Regions from separate parts of the Homo sapiens genome. Here all the other regions are linked to region 1. Evidence: promoter capture Hi-C in 16 types of primary human blood cells and fetal thymus (Javierre and others, 2016). All regions are on one chromosome and are shown on one strand. The core of a region is centred on a gene start or on the middle of the fragment in contact, and the rest is flanking DNA. Distances in the headings are between cores, read along the strand shown.

Region 1 (4,701 bases), core at 1,518-4,017:
TTCAGAGGGGAACACCTCCTAATACCTTTCTAGGTCCCAGTGGTTTGGGTGGTGGGCGGGATGGGAGGTTTACCTCCTTCTGCCCCATTTACCTGACAAGTGCAGGATGAGGCAAGTGACTCAGGTTTGATTAGTATCATTTTCCATCCCCCTGATCCCAGTGATTGGTTCAGACCAACTAACTGCAATGAGACTCAATCCTAGGGTTGTTTTGCAGGAACTGTTGGGAAAGTGAAGCACTTCATCCTTCAGTTGCTAAATTAGCAGAATAAGCTTCAGGTAGGATGTTACTCTGTAGAAAGAGCTGACTGAAAATGAAGTTAAAACTGAGGAATGTATAGCTGGGCAATATATACGTGGAGAGGGATGTTAAGTACTTGTGATGGTGGTTGAACCTCTAGGATCCAGCAATGCCTAAAGTGATTGCTACTTCTGGATTTCTCAACTTTTTCATTACACGAACTAATACATTTCTCCCCCCACTTCACTTTTTATTGTTATTTTCTCACTGAAACTGCCTTTCTTTCCTCTCTTGCAAAGGAATTCACTTGCCTCATCTGGCACTTGGGTGCTGAGGACAGAAGGAGGTAAGTACCCCCCAAAATCAGCAGGATCCAGAAGGGTATTCGGAAATGTTCTCCTCTGTGGCCACATGGCCCACTCCTACTGGTGCAAATGAGAGAAGCTGGAAAATTGCCTTAAATGTTGCCCAGATGCCACCTTTTTAAATCCTTTCCTGATTTCTTACCTCCTTCTCATCTTCCTTCTTCCTTCTCCTTTCCTTACCCCCTAGATTTGCTTGCTTCAGTTGGAATGGTATTTTTGGCTCTTATAACCAAGACCCATGAGTAATACAGAACTCATCAACACTCTTTACACTCTTAAGCAGTTGGAGACCTAACCAGATGCCTGGACACTGGGGACACAAACTGGAATAAAGTTCAATGAGAAGTGGACTGTGTCTTCAAGAAGCCCTCAGCATTGTGAATCGTGGACATTGTACAGTGTGACACGTGCCACACTCACAGTGTGTATAGGGTGTGTTGTGGAGAAGGGGTCCTCATTTGGACTAAGGAGTTAGCGAAGGCTTCCAGAAGCTGAGTAGGAACTAGAAGTAAGGACATTTCAGGCAGAGGCAATAACCGAATAAAGACAAAGGAGTGTCAGATGGCACATTATTCTTCATTCTGGAGACCCCGAGTAGTTTGATATGGCGGGGACGGAAGGTGCCTTTAGAAATGTGAAGGCAGATGGCGCCAAGGGTAGGAAAACGTCAGACCATGGGGGACCTTTGTCCTTCAGGTGTAAAATCATTTAAAGATTTAAGTGAGGGAAAACGTGCTCACGTTTGTTACTAAGATGACTGCTTTGGCTGCAGTGTGGAGGATGGATTGAAAAAAAGCAATTGTTATCTTACCATAGGATCATGAGAATCTCTCTTCAATAAATGCGAGAAAGGGCAGTCTGTTTTTCATGATATACTGATTGCCAGCATCTTGACAGAAGGGCTATGGCAAAACCGAGAAAACACTATCAATATTAGGCAAAAAAGCAAAACAAAACAAAAGAAAGGAAAACAAAGATCTCTCTAGCCCCAACAGTGCTAATTTTTGCATACCCAGCAATTACATTTCTAATGAAAGTCATTGCTGCCAAAATCAATCAGTATAAATGTTGGAGACTCCCTTCTCTTTCCGTGAAAAGCTTTTACTATTTCGTTTCACTAAAGCTTAAAGAGAACTTCGGGTTTATGGTTCATTCTAGAGCGATCCACCATAGGCGTGCTTTAAGATGATGGTCAGGGAAACTGTCATTTAATCTCAAGGAAGCTGTCATTTGATTCTATTCAAAAACTAGGCAGTACACATCAGCAGGCAATGTAGTCTGATGCTGTGACCTACTTTGTTGGCTGAAGCCTTCCACTGTTCCTGGAAGGGAAGTTATTTTTGTTTCCTTTCATCTCTCATTCACATACATGGAATATACACATTGGTTACTCTAGAAAACACATGGGTAGTCCTAGAGCAAAATGGGTTTCAAGGTTATTTAATTTATGCCTCTTAAAACCTCAGACACTTTCCTCCCAGTAAAATTTCATGTGGTATACAGAACTTTTTTTAAAAAAAAAATTCATCTTCTCCTTACTTCTCCTTACCACCTACTTTTTTCTTTCTTTTCTTTTTTCTTTTTTTGGGTAGAGACAGGGGTCTTGCTATGTTGCCCAGGCTGGTCTCAAATTCCTAGCCTCAAGCGATCCTCCCGTTTTGGCCTCCCAAGGTGCTGGGATTACAGGTGTGAACCACTGCACCTGGCCTACTTTTTTCCCTTTCAAGAAAATACAGTACTCCAAGGCCTGAGTGACTATGAAATTTCAACTTTTGTGCCTTTGTACTCTTAGATACCATGTTTGTTTTGTTCTTCTGCAAGATTACACTAAAATCCACTTTTCTTGTATGTATACACTATTTAAAAAGTTTCACAGTCTCTTAGGGAAGCCACTGGCAACACATCTTCACAGTGTCCGTGGAGAAGGTTATGTGATTTAAGAAACACTTGTGTCTATACCATTTAATATTTAGGAATTTGTTGATTTTTTAGGATCTTTGGATGAATGAGTTTTTAATTTTATCCAGCTTATTTAGAAGAAATTGCCATGCTTGCTTTAAAAGGGTTTCTTCTCGGATCCCAGCGGCGCCCAGAGCGTCACGCTGCGCCCCCGCCCCGGGGTCGGTCATGGTCTGCGCCTGCGCAGGTCCCGGCTTGCTCGCAGTCCTGCGGGGCGCCGGCGGCGATGGGTTGGGGAAATGGACGCCTGGAGAACGGAAATCCAGTTATCAAAATGGACTCGGGAAGAGAGAACCTAACAGAACAATAACAATGGAAGAAATTGGGAACATTATCACAAAGCTATCATCCTGCCAAACTCCAGGCTCAGATGATGTCACAGGTTAAAAAATGCCCTTCATGAGAAAGATCTTAAGCAACATGATAGATTCAGAAGCTCATGAAAAGAGGCCACCAATACTTACATCTTCAAAACAAGATATATCACCTCATATTACAAATGTTGGTGAAATGAAGCATTACTTGTGTGGCTGCTGTGCAGCCTTCAACAACGTCGCAATCACATATCCCATTCAGAAGGTCCTCTTTCGGCAACAGCTGTATGGCATCAAAACCCGGGATGCAGTACTTCAGTTGAGAAGGGATGGATTTCGAAATTTGTATCGTGGAATCCTTCCCCCATTGATGCAGAAGACAACTACGCTTGCACTTATGTTTGGTCTGTATGAGGATTTATCCTGCCTTCTCCGGAAGCATGTCCGTGCTCCAGAGTTTGCAACCCATGGCGTGGCGGCAGTGCTTGCAGGGACAGCAGAAGCAATTTTCACTCCACTGGAAAGAGTTCAGACATTGCTTCAAAACCACAAGCATCATGACAAATTTACCAACACTTATCAGGCTTTCAAGGCACTGAAATGTCATGGAATTGGAGAGTATTATCGAGGCTTGGTGCCCATTCTTTTCCGGAATGGACTCAGCAATGTCTTGTTTTTCGGCCTTCGAGGTCCCATTAAGGAGCATCTGCCTACCGCAACGACTCACAGTGCTCATTTGGTCAATGATTTTATCGGTGGAGGTCTATTGGGTGCCATGTTGGGATTCTTGTGTTTTCCAATTAATGTTGTAAAAACTCGCCTACAGTCTCAGATTGGTGGGGAATTTCAGTCTTTCCCCAAGGTTTTCCAAAAAATCTGGCTGGAACGGGACAGAAAACTGATAAATCTTTTCAGAGGTGCCCATCTGAATTACCATCGGTCCCTCATCTCTTGGGGCATAATCAATGCAACTTATGAGTTCTTGTTAAAATTTATATGAAAAAAAACCATCAGTTAAGTGCCATTTATCAACTGAATAGACCTTCTAAGAAGAATGCAGTTTGGCCTCTTTCTTAATTGGCCAAATACAAGTTCGTGTCATAACTCCAGGCCACAGTGAGTTACGGGCAAAGCTGTTTTCCTTAAGCATCAACAAAACAGAATAAAAGGTTCCAATAGGAAAATGTAAGGGTTTTTTTTTGTTTTGTTTTCTTTTTCTTTCTTTCTTTTTTTTTTTTTTTTATCATTACCTAAGAGCTTTAGGCTAATTGCCTGGTAAATAGCTGTCCATCTGATGGCCTTTGACAGGGAACCTAATCCCCAAGATAAGATTCTTTTTCTCAAACCAGTCTTGAAATCTCCTGCATTAAAACATAAGTTGCTATGACCGGCCAGAGAGAAGGTCCTCAGGGGCCAGGGGCTCCTCAGGCTTCCTTTGTTACTCCATTGCTTTCTTCTGTGCCCTCAGGAGCAGCTGCAGAGGATAGTCTTCATTAAGCTCAAGCATATGACAAAGGGGCAGAACAGAGAAGAAAAACAGCTTGTTATGTAGAGGCTTTTCATGATACATTGCTTGTATTAGTTTTGAAACTAATCACCTATTGGATAGTCATTATACTATTTCTATTTAGATATGGTAGATCAAGGAGCTATGAAAGTTCCCGTTTTGCTTTCTAGGTTTGAAAGTTTTCTGTTTGATTCTGACTGTGACCCTCAACCCTTCCAAAATATTCTTATGTTAATTTCACTTATTTCATTGCTGAAAGATGAAGGGACTTAAATTTTGTTATAGGTGTTCCATCCTGTTAAGAAGTTTTCATAT
Region 2 (4,701 bases), core at 777-3,276, 220 kb after region 1:
CCAGTCCTACTTTTTAAAAAATTATTCTTACTATGTCTGTAAGATCTGTAGTAAAGTTCTTTATTTTATTTCTAACATCCATAGTTTGTGCTTAATCTCTTAATATCCTAATTAGTCTGGTAAAATGTTTATCAATTTTATTGACCTCTTTAAATAATAAGCTTGTGGCTTCAATTTTTTTTCTTATTACTTTTTGCTAAATATTTCATTGATTTCTGCTCTAAAATTCATCATTATCTTATTTCTGCTTGTTTTGGGTTTAATTTGCTCTTCTAACTTCTGAGGGTGGAAGCTTAGGTCACTGATTTGAGAACCATCTTCTAATATAGCCATTTTTGCTACAATTTCCCTTCAAGCATCACTTTAGTAGTACCCCACAAATTTTCATGAAGTATAATTTAATTTGCAGTCATGTGTATTTATAAATATTTGAGTATATTTTATATATCTCTTTGTTACTGATCTCTGGTTTTAATTTTTTTTTCATCAAAGTACATTGTATGACTGCAGTTCTTTAAAAGTTATTTACATTTATTTAATGTTCTAGAATACAGTCTATATGAAAAAGCATGTGTATTCTGCTTCTGTTGCATAGAGTGTTCTGTCAGTATCAACTAGATCCATTTGGTTCACAGTACTAAGTTTTCTATATGCTTACTGATTCTGTCACTTGTTCTTTCATTTACTGATAGATCAGGTTGAACTCTCCAACTATCATTATGAATTTGTCTGTTTCTCTTTCAGTTGTTTTTGCTTTAAGTTTTAAAAATTTCTGTTATTAGGTTCTGACATATTTAGGAGTTTCAGGCCTCCTGATGAACTGACTCATTTTTCATTATGAACTATCCCTCATTATTCCTGGTAATATTCCTTGTTCTGAAGTATACTTTATCTCTATGTTATACTTTTTTTTTTTTTTTTTTTTAGACAGAGTTTCACTCTGTTGCCCAGGCTGGAGTGCAGTGGTATGATCACAGCTCACTGCATCCTTGGCTTTCCAGGCTCAAGTGATCCCCCTACCTCAGCCTTCTGAGTAGCTGGGACTACAGGTGTGTGCCAGCATGCCCAGCTAATTTTTTGTATTTTTGGAGAGATAGGGTTTTAACATATTGCCCAAGCTGGTCTTGAACTTCTGGGCTCAAGTGATCTGCCTGCCTTGACCTCCCAGAGTGCTGGGATCACAGGCATGAGCCATTGTGCCTGACCTCTACATTATACTTTTATTTTCAGTTCTGCTTCTAATTCCTCAATTCTAGCATGAGCTTCCTTATTGCATCTGATCATCTTCCTGGAACTTTTCTCATCATTTTTTGGTGGACCCTCATAATAGCAAAGCCAAGTACTCTCATACAGAAGGTAAAATTTAAATGGACTTAATAGATTGTGTTTTTTAGGTTATATATCCTCTGCCTCTCCTACGGAGCTCATCCCTACCAAGCCTGCTCCTGCAGAGGGATGCAACTTTCCGACCCACTGACATCTGTCTTGGTCATATGACTTGCTTTGGTCAATGAAATGTGGTGTAAAAAGGTGGAGGCTTTGAGAGCCATTGCCTGGTTCTGCCTTGTTCTTTTCTTTGGGTCACAAGGACGGCAGCTTCCCAGGTACAATCTGCTCTCTCAGTGTGCATCTTGATATGAAGACATCATGAAGGAAAGCAGAGCTGACTGACTGGCAAAAACATAACTGTAAGTGAGAAATATGCCTGTGTGAGAACTAAGATCATGGTTACTGCAGCATAATTTAGCTAACACCGACTGATTCTGTGGGTCCCATTTCTCTTTCCTTATTGCCTATAAGTATTCCCTGAAAAAAGAAAAAAAAAAAAAACCCAAAGTCTCATTTGGATCCAAGGCAATGATTACCCTAATAATATCACATTCACATACAAATGTTCCCCCCACCCCCCACCACCAATACATAAAACTCATCCTTACATCAGTGAAATAATTTCTTAAGAATTCTTCGTTCAGTGCAACAGCAGCTGCCTGAGCTCCGGCCATGTCTCTGGAAGCCCCTGTGGCCCTTGCGGTCTTCGTGGTTTCAGTGGTCATGATAGCGCCTGTGGCCCCTGTAAACTGGGTAGCTCTACCAGAAAGCAGGCTTCTGTGTTCTTCCCACCTTCCATCCATCTCGGACATCTCATGTTGCCCTTTGACAATGGAAGCAGAGCTACTTCCTTTCATCGTGGCTTCCTTGGCCATACCTCCTACTCCATTTCTTCCTACTAGACTGCCCCCTTGATCCACTGGCAGAAATGATGGCACCACCTGTGAGAGCAAACACAGCTGAGAACTGAGTCAGGAGGATGGAGGGAATCCTTCATCCTTGGTAGAAGGATCTGAGTCAAGTGGGCATAGGAAGGTATAAGCTATTTCCACTGAGGCCAGTTAGAAAAAGTATTTTGAGTTGAATAACTTATGTAAGTCTTATGAAGATCTCCTTTCTTCTCTCTTCTTGTTTTATAGGTGGATAGAACCCAAAGAGAAAACAAAGCCCAAACAGTCTCAGCTCCTTTACTCTATGCGACCAATGGCATTTCAACCTCCCTCTACAGTTTGATACCTTCTTCTATAGTTACAGAATTCTTAACTTTGTTTTGACCTGGATCCATGGCCACCCAAAATAAAGACTATATTTCTAAGCCTCTGATGCCACTAGGTATAGCCACCTGACTAAACTGTGGTCAATGTGAATGAAGCAGAAATGGTGTACACAAGTTCCGGGAAGTGTGCTTAAAGAGGGTTCTTCACTTTTCTCCCATGTGCTGGTTAGAATGTGGGGACGGCAGCTAGGTAGCTAGAACTAGGACATGAGGACAGTGTGGGAATGGAACTCAACCATGGAAGAAAAACAAGGAAGAGGGAACTGGGGACCATGCTGCGGATGAATCATCATGTTGATCTTGGAATGCCCATTTTAGGATTAAGCCACTGTTATTCTGAGTTCTCTGCCACCTGATGCTAAATCCTATCCTATTAGAAATGGTGCTCATAACAGATGGTGGTGAGAGGTCCAGGGTGAAGGTGCAACAGAGAGACAAAGGGATATGGCTATGATGTAGTTGGGAAATGGGGTTTTGCAACATTTTACAAGTGTCATGGGGGTTGTGGGCTTACCTCTGCAAACCCTATGTATTGAGGGAAATGGAAATGAAGCAGTTCCTGGTTATGAAAACTGCCCATTTAATGTTAGGACAAAAGACTTAGATTCCTACACACTCTTGCTCTTCCTGAACCTTGCTCTACATTCTCTACAACATGGGAAGTGTCAAAACAGAGTAAAACTATCTCAATTCTGCCCCAGCAACAAACACAAAATATGCTGTCATTTGAACTCTTTGCTTAACAAAGGCACATGAGTGAAATCCATAGTGATCACTTTACTCACTCAACCAAACATGTAAGAAACACTTCCCTAGGCCCCTTTAAAACCCAAGAAGAAGACAAGTCATATTGACATCTGATCCACTGACCTTGTCTTCAGGTGGTGCTCCTTCATTATTCCAAGGATGCAGCATCTCTATGGTGCCAGGTATGGGGGTAAAGCCTTTGGCGCCCTTTCCGCAATGGCACATCAGCAGTAAAAGTGGTACCACTGTACAGACACAAAATTGAACACAGATAAGGTTAACCTTGATATATTTCTAAATTTATATTGCACAATTTTGGAATTTGCATGTCCCTTCCTGGACTTGTCTTCACTTATTTACAGCTCTATTTTTCTTTTCTTCACCCTGATCCAACCTTACCAAGCTTGTTTTGGGTGAATTACTCCAAAACCCGAAGGCAGGATGAGGGAGTCTTACAGATTCAAGGCCTTGTTCATCAAAAAGAGGCTGTCTGTGGCTGCTGAGTGGAATACCAAGACTAGGTTCAGATAGTATCCAAATCATCAAAACCAGCTTAAAGATTAATTTTTTTAAAACTATGGTCCAATTAAAAAAAAATCACTGTTGCAAAAATATATGTACTATTGAAAACAGTAATTAGAAATAATAAAGTGAAACATATAACAATTTCAGAGCCCTCTTCTTAGATTTTATTTTACCCCTAGGAGGAAGCAAAGACCAAGGCTGACCCCTTGATCAATGTAGTAAAGAATTAAACACACCTGCATGCCCATCTGCCACTCCCATTTGGCAGCTTCCAATGATGAACTGGCTACTGCCTAGATTCGTTTTTATGTCAAACAGTCAACAGCACATTAACTACAGCTACTACGATTAATAAGAAGACTGAAATCAGCCAGTGGCAATTCAACAATTTTAACAAACATTCATCAAGTGTCTATTATGTGCCAAGTACCACATTAGGCTCCAGGGAATCTGAGATGAGAAAGCAGTGCAAGGAATCCCTGAGCAAAAGATACAGTCCCAGCTCCAGTACCTACCTACAAACTTGGTAAGCTGAGACAAGTCATTTACCGTTATGTATCTGTATATGTAGCCATAGCATGGAGATGATGGTATAAAAGTACACTGCAGACTGTTGAGTGCTGTGCTTTCAATTGCACATCTACCAATGGCTCTAATACAGCAGTCCCCAACCTTTTTGACACCAGGGACTGGTTTCATGGAAGACAGTTTTTCCACAGGGAAGTTAGGGGTAGGGGGGTTGGTTTTGGGATGACTCAAGTGCATTACATTTATTGTGTACTTTATTTCTATTATTATTACATTGTAATATATAATGAAATAAT
Region 3 (4,701 bases), core at 1,238-3,737, 200 kb after region 1:
GTGTCCAAAAGCTTTACCTGTGTATAGGTGTGCCACAGTTGCATGAACCTCACCTTTGGCTTGCTCATCTAAAAAGTGGACCAATAAACCTTGCAACTGACACACAAGTTTAGAAAGGTCAGATAGCATGGTGGGTAGATCTATTCCAGGTTCCCTTGCAATTACCAAAAGGGTTGTAACTTTCAATGCTTCATTAATCCACATGTAGCACTGCACAGAGCTGATTTTTTTCTTTTTTTTTTTTTTTTTTGAGATGGAGTCTCGCTCTGTTACCTAGGCTGGAGAGGAGTGGCGTGATCTCGGCTCACTGCAAGCTCCGCCTCCCGAGTTCAAGCAATTCTTCTGCCTCAGCCACCTCAGTAGCTGGGATTACAGGCATCCGCCACCACACATGGCTAACTTTTTGTATTTTTAGTAGAGATGGGGTTTCACCGTGTTGGCTAGGCTAATCTTGAACTCCTGACCTCAGGTAATCCTCCCATCTTGGCCTCCCAAAGTGCTGGGATTACAGGTGTGAGCCACCACACCCGGCCCACAGCTCATTTTGAAGGAACTCTACCAATAACCTGCTGTTTACAATTTTTACATGATAAACAACATAGTAGCAAACATCCTTATATACATATCTTTTCATAATTTTAAGACTCTCTTGAGGTAAGATCCTAGAAGCTGGGCTGAAGAATTTGGTTCTCTTTCCATGGGTCGGGTCATTGGAATGTTCAGAGGATGCACCCGGTAGCAGATGCTCTTCCTCCCTAGTTATCAGGGCTATGTCAGGAGGAGGGGGAAAGAGACATGAGGATTTTGTTTGCCTCTATGTTCCTTTTACTTCCTTGATAGTTTGTCTTGGTTTATCCTATTTCTTTTTCTAACCCCCTGGCTTCTACTTTTGGCCAAATATTACTGGAGTATGTATGAGAGTAGAGGGAGACGCAGACGGGTCGGGGATGCAGGGAGTGGAAATATTGAGGGAATATTCCTTTTAATCATTATCTTTATTTTTATTTCATTCCAGCTTCTCAATGTGGATCAGGTGGGTGGATTTTTCTAATTTTTAAGACTATAAATCTTAAACGAATTTCTCTAATTTTTAAGACTCTAAGTCCTGTACTAGCAAGAACATGGATTTTTCTACCCTTCCTTAGAGTGCTCCAGATTATGTGGGAATTTTATTTCTCTTTGTTTGCAAGAGAAACTCCTAAAGAGCTCATTCCTTAGAAAAGCATGAATTTCCGCATGTCTCTTTAACCATCAATTTAGCTGCTCTCAAAGAAATCTGAAGAATGCTTTGCTTGTGTGTCTTTTTCCTTCTGTGTCCACTTTTAACTAAATGTCTCTTTCCAGTGTCTCCATTTCTAATTAATAAGAAGGGAGTTAGCTGGACTGATTATTCTTTGTCATCCCATTGTGGCCAGATCTTTGAACAGTCTATCTCTTGGGCTTCTAGACAACCTGCAGATGGCCACTTTTAGGTTCAGTACCTCTCTCATCCAGTCAGCTGTTGGTTGAGTGTGTGGTAGGGTGTGTATCATATGGAATGGAAAGATCCTCGGATGCTCTAGAATTCCGAGTGAGGTGAAGGGCATTCAGCGGACCTTGGGTGCTCTTACTCAGGGATTTCTTTTAAATTGGCAAGCTAGTCCAGGGGCAGTGCCAGCACTTTGGGAGGCCGAGTTGGGAGGATCACTTGAGCCCAGGAGTTCAAAACCAGCCTTGGCCACATAGCAAATCCCCATCTCTACAAAAAATATATAAAAAAAATAGCTTGATGTGGTGCGTGCCTGTGGTCCCATCTACTCTGGAGGCAGAGGCAGAAGGATCACTTGAGTCTGGGAGATTGAGGCTGCAGTGAGCTATGATTGTGCCACTGCACTCCAGCCTGGGCAACAGAGTGAGACCTTGTCTCAAGAAAATAAATAAATAAATAAATAATAAATTGGCAAACTAGGAGAGAAAAAGCATGGTAAGTATAGCCTGGCATTTTTGTTAAAAAAAAAAAAAAGCTTCTAAAAAATGTCTACACATACATTTACCCCATGACCCAGCAATTTAGGTATTTGCCCCAGAGCAATGAAAACATATGGCCACCAAGGCTTGAACATGAATGTTTATAGTAGCTTCATTTTTGATAACACAAAACTGAAGACAGTCTGGGTGTCCATCAATATGAGAATGGAAAAACAATTTTGACATAATTATACAATAGAACGCTACTGCATTCCATTGCAAAATAGTTTCTTTTCTACAAAAAGAAATGTGTTACTGGTACACACAACCTAGATGAATCTCAAAAAATTATGCTGAGTGATAGAAGTCTATTCCAGAGTCCACACTATATGACTCCATTTATATAAAGTTCTAGGAGAGGCAAAACTAAAAAAAATTTAAATAAAAAAGTCATTGCCTCTCAGAGATAGAGATGAGGCCTGAGCAGGAAGAGGTATTGGTATTTTCTGGGGTCATGGTCATTTTCACATCTTGAAAGGGGTTTGGTTACACGGGTGTATGCATTCTTCAAAACTTAGCAAATGTACACTTAAAATTGGTGCATTTCATGCTATGTGATTTTGCCTCAGAAGAAAAAAAATGTAAATAAATCTTGAACTGTAATTCAACTCTGATGTGTTCAGCGTATGGATGTATTTAAGTATACTTATGGCTATAATTTAATTTGAAATTCACCAAGAGAAATAAGATGGATTGATCAATGGATACAGACATGGATAGATATGTAATAAACTAAGAACAGTAAAATATTAATAGTGAAATCTTGGTGGTAGAAATTCAAGTGTTCACTGAAAATTCTTTCAGTTTGCTATGTGTGTGAAAAGTTTTCCAATAGAATGTTGGGGAAAATGTCTATTGAAATATGATATACCATTCAATTAACAACAAATAGTCATGCACGTGTCATATATAAAGCATTGTGATATGTACTAAAGATGCAAGAATGAAGAAAGACAAAGCTTTTGGCTCGGAGCTTTCACAGTTTCATAAAGGAGACCAAAGTACCAAATTGTTAGGGGAACAAACATGTCAACAATTTTCTGGAATCGTCTAATTTCAAGTACTTTACTTTTATTTGTTTTATGTGTAAAAGAAATGCATTTTATTATTATTTATGTTTCTGTTTCTATTTTTATATATTTCAGGGGTACAAGTGCAGGATTTTTAAATTTTCATTTTTTTAAAGCATAGTCTTTGTCATCTGGGCTGGAGTACAGTGGCACAGTCATGGCACACTGCAGCCTTGAATTCCTGGGCTCTAGTGATCTTCCCATGTCAGCCGCCCAAGCAGCTGAGACCGCAGGTGTACACCACCATGGCCACCTAATTTCTTAAAATTTTTGTAAAGACGAGGTCTCACTATGTTGCCCAGGCTGGTCTAGAACTCCTGGGCTCAAGCAATCCTGCTGCCTTGGCCTCCCAAAGTGATGGGATTACAGGCATGAACCACCAAGCCCGGCTGCAGATTGTTTACATGCTCGGATTGCATAACAGTTACATCTAGGCTTTTTAGTGTACCCATCACCGGAACAGTGAACGTTGTACCCAAGAGGTAATTTTTCAATCCTTACTTTCTCCTCCCTTCTCACCTTTTGGAGTCCCCAGTGTCTATTATTCCACTCTGTATGCCCACGTGTACCCACTGTTTAGCTTCCACTTATAAGTGAGAACATACGGTTTTTTTTTTTTTTTTTTTTTTGAGACAGAGTTTCACTCTTGTTGCCCAGGCTGGAGTGCAATGGTGAGATCTCGGCTCACCGCAACCTCCGCCTCCCAGGTTCAAGCGATTCTCCTGCCTCAGCCTCCCGAGTAGCTGGGATTACAGGCATGCACCACCACACCCGGCTAATTTTATATTTTTAGTAGAGATGGGGCTTCTCCATGTTGGTAAGGCTGGTCTCAAATGACTTTCTGTTTTTGAGTTATTTCACTTAGGTTAATGGCCTCCAATTCCATCCATGTTGCTGCAGAAGACATGATTTCATTCTTTTTTATGGCTGAGTATTATCCCGTGGTATATATGTACCACAGTTTTTTAATCCAGTTGATGGATTAAATTGGACACTTAAGTTGATGGACACTTAGGTTGATTCCATATTCAAGTACTTTATTTTTAAACGTAAGGAATTCTTTAAGTAAATGACTCCATGTTATTTTGATTGACTAATTTTGTAAGTGTTTTTATGTAAACAAACTCACAAGTTAGGAAAAAAATCTTTCATCAAATGCTGTCTTCTAATTTTGTTTAGGGAAATGTTTTTCTCATAACCATACCTTGCCTGTCTGTTGCCTCTGTGACCTATTGACATAATATTTAAAATTTACTTTACAGCAAGAAAAGGGCACTGAAAATGCACGGAAAAGTCAATGAAAGTCAGAAGAAAAAAAGGTTAATATTTAAGGTTGACTTTGGTTGGAGTTAACTTCAACTTTCCCCCACCCTCTTCCTGCAGAATCTCCTCCTTCCAGCTGAGGATTCTTTCTAAAACCTGGTTATAAGGTGTCTTGCTCACAATTGTCTGTGGCTCTTTACTGCATAAAGAGTCTGGTCCCACAGCCTTAGCTGCTGTTCCAAGTCCTCCACAGGGTGGCCTGTACCTGCCTCTTCACCCACACCTTCTGCTGTGCTCACCGCCTCTAATCCCTTACCCGCTAGCCACCCTCACCTGTGTGAGGTAAGCTTCTGATCTAGGT

Evidence for each region. The method cuts DNA at HindIII sites, captures the fragments that hold promoters and counts their contacts. A CHiCAGO score of 5 or more calls a contact.
Region 2: a fragment that was not itself captured here is called in contact with the fragment with the promoter of SLC25A52 in region 1 in 1 of 17 cell types (M0 macrophages); the score reaches 5.4 in M0 macrophages.
Region 3: a fragment that was not itself captured here is called in contact with the fragment with the promoter of SLC25A52 in region 1 in 1 of 17 cell types (M2 macrophages); the score reaches 5.4 in M2 macrophages.

The regions. Positions count from the first base shown.
Region 1 is chr18:31,758,946-31,763,646 of GRCh38, reverse strand. SLC25A52 (solute carrier family 25 member 52) reads left to right here and starts at 2,767. Exons shown (of 1, transcript NM_001034172.4): 1 at 2,767-4,063. The coding sequence starts at 2,986. The coding sequence ends at 3,879. The HindIII fragment of the contact is 4,954 bases long and covers 1,732-4,701 here.
Region 2 is chr18:31,540,089-31,544,789 of GRCh38, reverse strand. It overlaps DSG2 (desmoglein 2), which reads right to left. Exons shown (of 15, transcript NM_001943.5): 13 at 3,476-3,597; 14 at 1,938-2,270. DSG2-AS1 (DSG2 antisense RNA 1) reads left to right here. Exons shown (of 6, transcript NR_045216.1): 5 at 1,395-1,688; 6 at 2,469-2,644. Among named protein-coding and RNA genes, the nearest start is that of DSG2-AS1, 14 kb to the left of the region's middle. The HindIII fragment of the contact is 3,463 bases long and covers 295-3,757 here.
Region 3 is chr18:31,557,549-31,562,249 of GRCh38, reverse strand. No RefSeq gene overlaps it. Among named protein-coding and RNA genes, the nearest start is that of DSG2-AS1, 3.0 kb to the right of the region's middle. The HindIII fragment of the contact is 963 bases long and covers 2,006-2,968 here.